Regions from separate parts of the Homo sapiens genome. Here region 2 is linked to region 1. The links are contacts of gene promoters, found by promoter capture Hi-C in blood cells and fetal thymus (Javierre and others, 2016). All regions are on one chromosome and are shown on one strand. Each heading gives the region's core, a stretch centred on a gene start or on the middle of the fragment in contact. The rest is flanking DNA. Distances are from core to core; before and after follow the strand shown.

What was found. Contacts are between HindIII fragments. The CHiCAGO score rates a contact against its expected background, and 5 or more counts as called.
Region 2: a contact is called between a fragment that was not itself captured here and the fragment with the promoter of ST3GAL5 in region 1, in 1 of 17 cell types (activated CD4 T cells). The highest score is 5.4, in activated CD4 T cells.

Annotation. Positions count from the first base shown.
Region 1 is chr2:85,886,992-85,891,243 of GRCh38, reverse strand. It overlaps ST3GAL5 (ST3 beta-galactoside alpha-2,3-sialyltransferase 5), which reads left to right and starts at 2,254. Exons shown (of 7, transcript NM_003896.4): 1 at 2,254-2,420. The coding sequence starts at 2,339. It overlaps ST3GAL5-AS1 (ST3GAL5 antisense RNA 1), which reads right to left and starts at 1,964. Exons shown (of 3, transcript NR_110569.1): 1 at 1,441-1,964; 2 at 39-68. RefSeq lists silencers at 1,853-2,472, 2,513-2,632 and enhancers at 2,803-2,882, 2,574-3,074, 3,413-3,542, 3,553-3,672. The HindIII fragment of the contact is 797 bases long and covers 1,952-2,748 here.
Region 2 is chr2:86,182,288-86,186,539 of GRCh38, reverse strand. All of the region lies in intron 1 of IMMT (inner membrane mitochondrial protein), which reads left to right. Among named protein-coding and RNA genes, the nearest start is that of MIR4779, 8.7 kb to the left of the region's middle. The HindIII fragment of the contact is 1,922 bases long and covers 781-2,702 here.

The sequences.
Region 1 (4,252 bases), core at 1,005-3,504:
GGTGGAGGTTGCAGTGAGCCAAGATCGTGCCACTGCACTCCAGCTTGGATGACAGAGTGAATCTGTCTCTAAAAAAGAAAAAAAAAAAAACGCTGCTGTCCTGGATTTGTAAGTAGCCTGAGTGACTCTTTGCTAGTCACTATTCAGAAGCTTCTCTGAGATCAGCCACTGACTTGGAGAGATAACAGTAAGGCTTTGAGATCTAGAGGCTGATCTTAGTCTGCTGTTTGGAGATCTCTGCCTTAATCCAGAATAATAGCTGAGGATGTCTCTGTGGCTGATGAAGAAAAGGAAGTTTGCAGGCCTGCTTGTCTTGCTGCCCAAGTGGGTCAACCTAATGTGAGTGGAGTGAATGAGGTAGTAAGGGCTTAACAGATGTCTTGTGATTCTGGGACAGGAGGCAGCTTCAAGTTCCTTTTCTTCCTCACCCCCACCTTACACCCATCCTTGGAAGCTGGGATACTGCTGACTCTCATGGCAGCCATAACGCTATCAGCGCCTGGCTTTGCCGACAAGGGGAATCTGGAAGAGAAGGGGAAGGACAGGGGAGACAAAGAGAGGTAAAGAGTGTTGCATCAAGCACATGTGTCAGAAGTGTTCAAACCAGAGCGCCTCCATTTTGAGTGAGGGCTAGAAAAATGAGGCTGGGACTTGCTAGGCTGCATTTCCTGAAAGCTAGGCATTCCTAGCCTCTAGGTGTTTATGGTTAAGAGAACAAATTAATAATGCTTACTAAACAGACCCAGACTTGAGAGAGTCCAGATATCCCGATATCTGGAGAACAAAGGCATTCCTAATTTTGCTTTAAAAATAATAATATTGATTATTGCAAAATATAGTAATTAGGGAAAATTAATCCTTTATCACAAACCCTTGTAGCAGAAGACATCTGCCCATATATACAAGCATTACAAGCATTGTACCTTAGTTGGATATGTCCCTCCTCTTATTTTCAGGAATGCCCTGCTGGAGTGCAGTGGCGATCTCGGCTCACTGTAGCCTCTGCCTCCCGGGTTCAAGCGATTCTCCTGCCTCAGCCCCGTGAGTAGCTGAGACAACAGGCTTGCGCCACCACGCCCGGCCAATATTTGTATTTCTAGTAGAGACGGGGTTTTGCCATGTTGGCCAGCTGGTCTTGAACTCCTGACATCAGGTGATCTGTCCGTCTCAGCCTCCCAAAGTGCTGGGATTACGCGTGAGCCACTGTGCCCAGCCACCACTTTACTTTCTTAATAAACTTGCTTTTACTTTGCACTGTGGACTTACTCTGAATTGTTTCTTGCGTGAGATCGAAGAACCCTCTCTTGGGGTCTAGATCGGGACCCCTTTCCTGTAACACATGGGCCTTGGGCTGATCTCCAAGATTAAGAGGGCAAGATACTCAGCTGCAAGGGTCAGCTGTCGCTGACCCCAGCAGCTGCTCTGCCTTGGCCAACTTACCGGATTTAAATCGCCCAGTGACAGCTTTTCCTCCAGTATTTTCAAAATGCTCCCAATATCCTCACGTTAGAACAATCCAGAAATAGTCTTATGGTAAAACTCTTTTGGGAAATGTGAAAGTAGAGTCCTCCCACCTTTTCCTTTGCAACGCTTTTGCCCCAACCTCGATCGCCCAGGCAGCACATTTTTTCCGGCACCCCCACCAAGGGAAGAACAGAGACATCTCCAAACCAGCTGCCCTGCGCCAAGCTGTTACAAAATAGAGCCACAAGTCTCCCGGTTTATGCAAACATATTTGGCTCGGTGTCTAGGATCTTCTTTTTCAAACTCAGAAGGAGATCACAGGCACACGGCCGCGGTGCTGTGTACGCCCCTCTGAAAGGAAGTTCTGCAAGTCGACCGACTTCACTGGCTTCACTGAAGTCCGGTCCGAAACCACCGGAAAGTTGCAGGCGCACAGTATACGTTCAGCTGTGTCCAAGAAATAACCTATCAATCACTGCCTTAAGCTTTGTTTCCTTCCTGAATTTTCTTATTTTCACGAATATTTATGCTTTCACAAACTGTATGTCATTTCCTCTCCAGAACCAAGGGGGGCTCGCCCCAGCCTGGCCCCCGCCCCGGGTGCGTCCCTGCAGGGGGCGCCCTGCTCTGGCAATGCCCACCGCACCGCAGGGCTGACTGGCCGCGCGCCCGGGGGCGGGGGCCGCCGCGGAGGCATCGTGCTCTCCGATTGGCCGTCCGCGTCCTCGTGACGTCAGACCCCGCCCACGCGCCCCTCCTCCGCATCTGAGCGGGGGAGCGGCGGCCCCCAGCTGAATGGGCGCGAGAGCGGCGCTGGGGGCGGGTGGGGGCGCGGGGTACCGGGCTGGCGGCCGGCCGGCGCCCCCTCATTAGTATGCGGACGAAGGCGGCGGGCTGCGCGGAGCGGCGTCCCCTGCAGCCGCGGACCGAGGCAGCGGCGGCACCTGCCGGCCGAGGTACGTGGCGCAGCCCCCTCCTCGGCGTCGCGGGGGCCCGCGGGCTGGGGGCTGCGGCGGCGACTTGTCTCTTCCCGGGCCGGCTGGGCGCGGCGTTTCCGCCTCGAACCCCGCGGGCAGCGCCCAGGGCACGACACCCTCAGGCGAGCCCGGCTGGGGCGCGGGCGGAGGGTCGTGGTCCCGGGCCGTGTGGACCGGGCGGGGGGTCCCACGCAGGTGTGTACGCGGTAGAGGGTGGGGCGGACCGCCGGGTGTCGGGTCCCGCCGCAGTGGCCCTTTCCCCGCCGCTTTCCGCTGCAGCTCGGGATTTAATTCATTGCTGGAAGCTTCGGAGTTAGCAGAGCCGAGTTAACTCGTTTTCCTGGGATGGGCTTAGGGAACCCCCTGCAAGGTTACTAGCAGCTCCTGAAACCTCTCTCTGCATCCATCGGGGAGGCGTGATGTGGGGCCGCTGGTAGAAATTTGCCGGTGACCTTCCCTGCACCCTCTCTGCAGCCAGCCTTGCGGAGAAGACAGGTTTTGGCGACCTTTTGATTTCTTCTGAATTGTAAGCCGTGGCTTGACGCGGGTGTGCATTCATTGTACGCCTTGCGTGTGTAAGTAACGCAGGGTTTTCCGAGAGCATCCCCGAGGAGCCCTGCCCTTGCCTCACACCCGCTTGGTGACCTTGGCAGACACTGATCCCCCTGTGGGGCTCGGGCTCATGGTCTCTCCTGAGAAGCTTACCCTGCCGATGGCCGAGGTCCCTTCCAGGCCCCGGGTTTTTCTAATCATAAAAAAATACGTTTACGAGGGTAGAGGATCCTGCAGAATCTCTAGCTGACTCGGAAGACGAATTTTATATCCTCATGTCTTAAGTCATGCATGCGGCTTTTGCTTAATTAGGCATCGTTCATTTGAAGGGGAAAATGGTTTTATGTGCTGCGCTTCATCTGGCACCAGTGGTTGCCTGCTCCTCGTGGCAGGGCCGTGCTGGGTGTCACAGAGAGGAAGGAGACTCATCTCCTGCCCTCTGGTGTTTAGCTGCCCTCCCCCGGGCTTATGGCTGCTAATCCTTTTCCACGGAAGGATACAGCTGCTGAAACTGTGGAAGAGGAATCCATTTCTGCTGCATGAAGGGGCACAGACTTGAATACAGTCAGGACAGGTTGTGGTTTCACTTGTGTAATCCTGAGAGCTTGACAGCTTCGAGGAGTGTCTAACATTGCTAGTAACAGAGCCTAGAAGCACCTGAATTCCAGCTGTCACTTGGAGAAGGAGAGATTCATACGAACTGCGAGAGCATATAACCAGCATGTCTTGAGTCTTTTACCCATGTGCCTGTTATATGGATGCTGCTGTTTTTGTAAGATGAAATGACCCTTGGATATTCTGGGTTATGATCAGCATTTCTTCGTCTAGGCGAGAAAAGAAACAGGTGAGATAGGAAGGCATGAAGGGGCTCATGGAAGAGAGAGGGCTGACAGGCAGAAATTTTGAGAGCTCACATTTACGACTATTTGGACAGTTCTTATAATTTTGGCATAAATTGTAAATTGTTGCATGTTATCAAAATAGATTGGTGATGAACGTTAAGGATATATCCGTGGCAGAATAAGAACACACTCTTTGTTCTTTGGTTTGCTCCTCTAGTTCTTCCCTGCTTGCCTTGTGGGACTATTTGCAGCAATGAGGGGAATTTATCTAGCAGGTTGGCCTCGGGAGGCAATGAATGAAAAGAGGTTGGTGAGTCCTCTGTGGGAGTCCATTCCAGGTCCTGGAGGGCTGAGGTGGGTGTCTTGGAGCCAGCAGTTTCTGGGAGAAGGGATAAAGCTCACCTTCCACACCCTCCT
Region 2 (4,252 bases), core at 492-2,991, 300 kb before region 1:
AAGAGGCAGAGCTAGGTAGAAGCTGTATCCTTTTTATGTCTTAGTCTCAGGAGTTACAGAGCATCACTTTCACTGCCTTCTATTAGTGAATTAGTAACAAAGGCCTGCCCTTGTTTAAGGGAAGTGTACATAAAACTTATTATTGTTGGGAGAGGGGCACGTTTCTGGAACAGCATGTGGTATAGGAAGTATTGTTGCAGTCAATTTTGGATATTATCCTCAGCCTTCTGGACCCAACTGACATCCCTCCCACATGCACATCCCTCCCACTCACAACCTTCTCCAAGACTCTCCAGAGTCTAATGCCATCAAAGCATCAGCATTAGGAACAAGATCTTGTCATCTGAATCAGATCCTACTATGGATAAGACATCTTGAATGTGGTCCCTAGGGTATAGCTTCTTAAACACTTTTTTTGGTGATCTAAAGCCCTGTAAACTAAAGAGACAAATTATCTGCTCCCCATACATTCAGCATATGGTGGTATGACAGACACAGGATAATCACTCTAGACACTCCTATTCAAAAAGGCAGAAACTAAGAGGCACACAGCAGTCACCATTCCATAACAAGTGTAAAATTCAGCTGGCCCTATGTTTCTAATTCCTTGATGAGAGCTCAGTCCTACTGCTTGGGAATGATTCTCCTCAGCTCTTGGTTCTACCCTTTGGGCTCCTGGTTTTACACTTGAATTATTCTTCCGTTTCCAGAATATGTTGTCTGTTACAGCTGAATTGTTTCACAGCCTACTTCCTGTCTGTAGAAGTTTGTCTAGAAGCTTCTTTTCATTTTGTCCTCTTTTTCACTTTAAATATAAGCCAGCATGTTTTTTATTGACACAATTCTCAACAAGTTTGTGGGTTTCCTGTGAATCTTAATGGGATTTTCTTCATTAGATGCATGATACACATCTTATCAAGATAAGCCCTTCTCCATTTTGGGCTTCCTGTGAGGCTGCTGTAGGTAACACCTTTAATGTTCTGAGTAACCTTATTGATTCAATAGAATCTGGGAAACACATCCTTATGATTCTTAGAGGGCCTTTTCCTCAAGGTAAAAAGACTCTCTGAGGGGCACCTCCTTAGATCTTTTTGAGATCTCAAAGTATCTTTTGGTCACACACTAGATTTGATCTTTGGCTTGAAGCCCTTCTCTATTTGAGAATCTATTTGAAAACAATAAGCAGTTTTATTTTTGAACCCACCAAATCCTGACTCTTTTATATTTCCTTTAAATTTTGCTTGAAAGCAAAACAGGTTTTTGTTTTGTTTTTTAATGCTTATCTCTGTCCTTATCATACTCAGCTAAAAGAAACCAGTTAGCGCTTGTGATGAACACTATACTTGGAACTCTTTTGTTTTTTTTTTTTTAAGACAGAGTCTGGCTCTGTCACCCAGGCTGGCGCAATCTCGGCTCACTGCAAGCTCTGCCTCCCGGGTTCATGCTGCCTCAGCCTCCCGAGTAGCTGGGACTACAGGCGCACACTGCCACGCCCGGCTAATTTTCTGTATTTTTAGTAGAGACGGGGTTTCACCATGTTCAGCAGGATGGTCTCAATCTCCTGACCTTGTGATCCGCCCGCTTCGGCCTCCCAAAGTGCTGGGATTACAGGCGTAAGCCATCGCGCCTGGCCTACTTGGAACTCTTTAGCCAAGTACGTCAGTTCATTAGGTGTAGCTACAGCTATACTTAATTTTCTATTTTCCATGTCTGTCATTACAGATGACAGTTTTGATAAACTTCTGTCACTACATAACAAGAATATCTTTTCCTCCAGGTTCCAAAATTTTTTTTTTTTTTTGCTTTTCTTTAAGCCCTCACCAACAGGCTCTGGAAGGCCATTAGGCTTCTGCTCACAGTCTCTTCAAGGTTCTTCAGCTTCTGCCGCCCCCAACACCAGTCCCAAAGTCATGACCTCGTGTTTATGTTTTGTTGCAGTAGCACCCCTCTTCTAGGTATAAACATATGTTTGGTTATCTGTAGCTGTGTAACAGACCACCCTAAACTTAGTGGTATTAAATAGCAGTGTAATTATAATTATTATATTAACAATAACAAACGTATTAATATATAAATTATGTAAATAAAAATTACTCAGTGCTTTGAGAGGCCAAGGTAGGAGGATTGCTTGAGGCCATGAGTTCAAAACTAGCTTGGGTAACATAGCAGACCTGGCTCTATAAAAAACAAGAACAAAAATATTAGCTGGGTATGGTGGGCATGTGCCTGTAGTCCCAGCTACTCAGGGGGCTGAGGCTGGAGGATCACTTGAGCCCAGGAGTTAGAGGTTACAGTGAGCTATGATCATACCACTGCATTCCACAACCTTGGCAACAGAGCAAGACTCAGTCTCTTAAAAAAAAAATTATTTATATGCTTGAAACACTCTATTTCTGTATTTTCACCCCTCAGATTGTCAATGATGAAAAAAAAATGATACAATACAGTGTGTTGGAGAAAATGTGGGAAAACATACTTTCATATTACTAGAGGGCAGTTTGGCTAATTTGGCAGTATTAATCAACGTGGCAAATTTTACTTTTAAGAATAGACCCAAAATTGTGTATACAGTGTTACTCAGGTAGCATTATTTATTTTAACAAAAATTTAGAAAAAACCTCAGTGTCCCTCAATAGGGGCTGGTTAACAATTAAACATTAAGTAACAATGGAATACCAAATCATGAAATCCCTTGGGAAGCTTTTCACGTACTGATATACAGTGATTTAAAATATATATCCTTGAACTTTAATAGAGAATTGCGTGTATATTATGGTATCATTTGTGTAAAGGTGGGGAAAGTCAGGAGAATATGCACATTTGAATAAATATACATAAAATGTCTCTGGATAAATAAGAAACTGACAGTGTCAGTTGCCTATGGCAAGCATGGGGTGGCTGGGGAAAGAAGTATGAGGAAGATTTTACTCTATGCATATTTAAACTTTTAAAATTATTATTTAAAACCTCAGATTTTAAATTTATTTAGTATTAGGAGCTTTTAACTTATAGTCAAAACACATTCTGTCAAAGGGAGGATGGAGAGTCAAGATAAAAGAAAATAGAAGGTAGATAAAGAAACATTTAAAAATACTGATGCTGGGCGTGGTTGTTCATGCCTGTAATTCCAACACTTTGGGAGGCCGTGGCAGGAGAATAGGTTGAGACCAGGAGTTCGAGACCAGCCTGGTCAACATAGCAAGACCTGGTCTCTACAAACAACAAAAAAAATTATTTAAAGAAAAACTGATGTGACTTTGGGTAGTCTGAAACTCTAGTATTAAATTTGTCCCTGATTTCCTGGAGTCAGTTATCCATTGTGCTTGCTGCTTGATACTCCAGTTAGCTAATTATCCACTGTTGACAGTGCCTTAACTTTTTACCTGAATACCTATTTATACCTAGACAGATAAAAAATGCAACCTTAAATATAATACAACTTCAGTGGCCTCTTAATATTTTCTCCCTAAGTCACAAAAATGGAATTGTTGACATATAAAAATAGATGCATTTCTGTTTACAATTTCATACTACTTTACAGAATAGAAGGAAAACACCCTTTTCTATTAAAAATGGTTCAAAAATGTTGGGAATTCTACAGGGTAGGTAATAATTGAAATACTGGGTTTTTTTTGTTTGTTTGGTATTTTTTGTTTTTGTTTTTGTTTTTTTTTTTAAGGGGAGTGGAGGAGACAGGGTCTCATTCTATTGCCCAGGCTGGAGTGGAGTGACACAGTCTTGGCTCATTGCAACCTCCACCTCCGGGGCTCAAGCTCAAGTGATTCTCATGCCTCAGCCTCCCAAGTATCTGGGACTATAGGCACATGCCACCAAACCTGGCTAATTTTTGTATTTGTAGTAGAGATGGAGTTTTGCCATGTTGCCAAGGCTGGTTCTGACGTCCTGGGCTCAAGCAATCCCCGCCTGCGCCGCTCACCCTCGCCAGCCTCCCAAAGTGCTGGGATTACAGGCATGAGCCACCATGTCAATAATTGAAATACTTTTTAATACCAGTTGTATCTGCTTTACATATTTTAAAACATCTGATTTGTTTTTTTGTTTTTCAAAATGTATGACTGCATTAGTTAGCTGTTTACCTCTAGGCTTTGGCCAGTAGAGTGTAAATTATAACTAGAGTAATTTCATGTGTCCTATGATCATGTGATAGATTTTCCTAAAACTATAGATACTTTTAAAAGGAAGTTTGTGTTATTCTGATATTCGTTAAATACAATTTCATTAAAGAACCTAG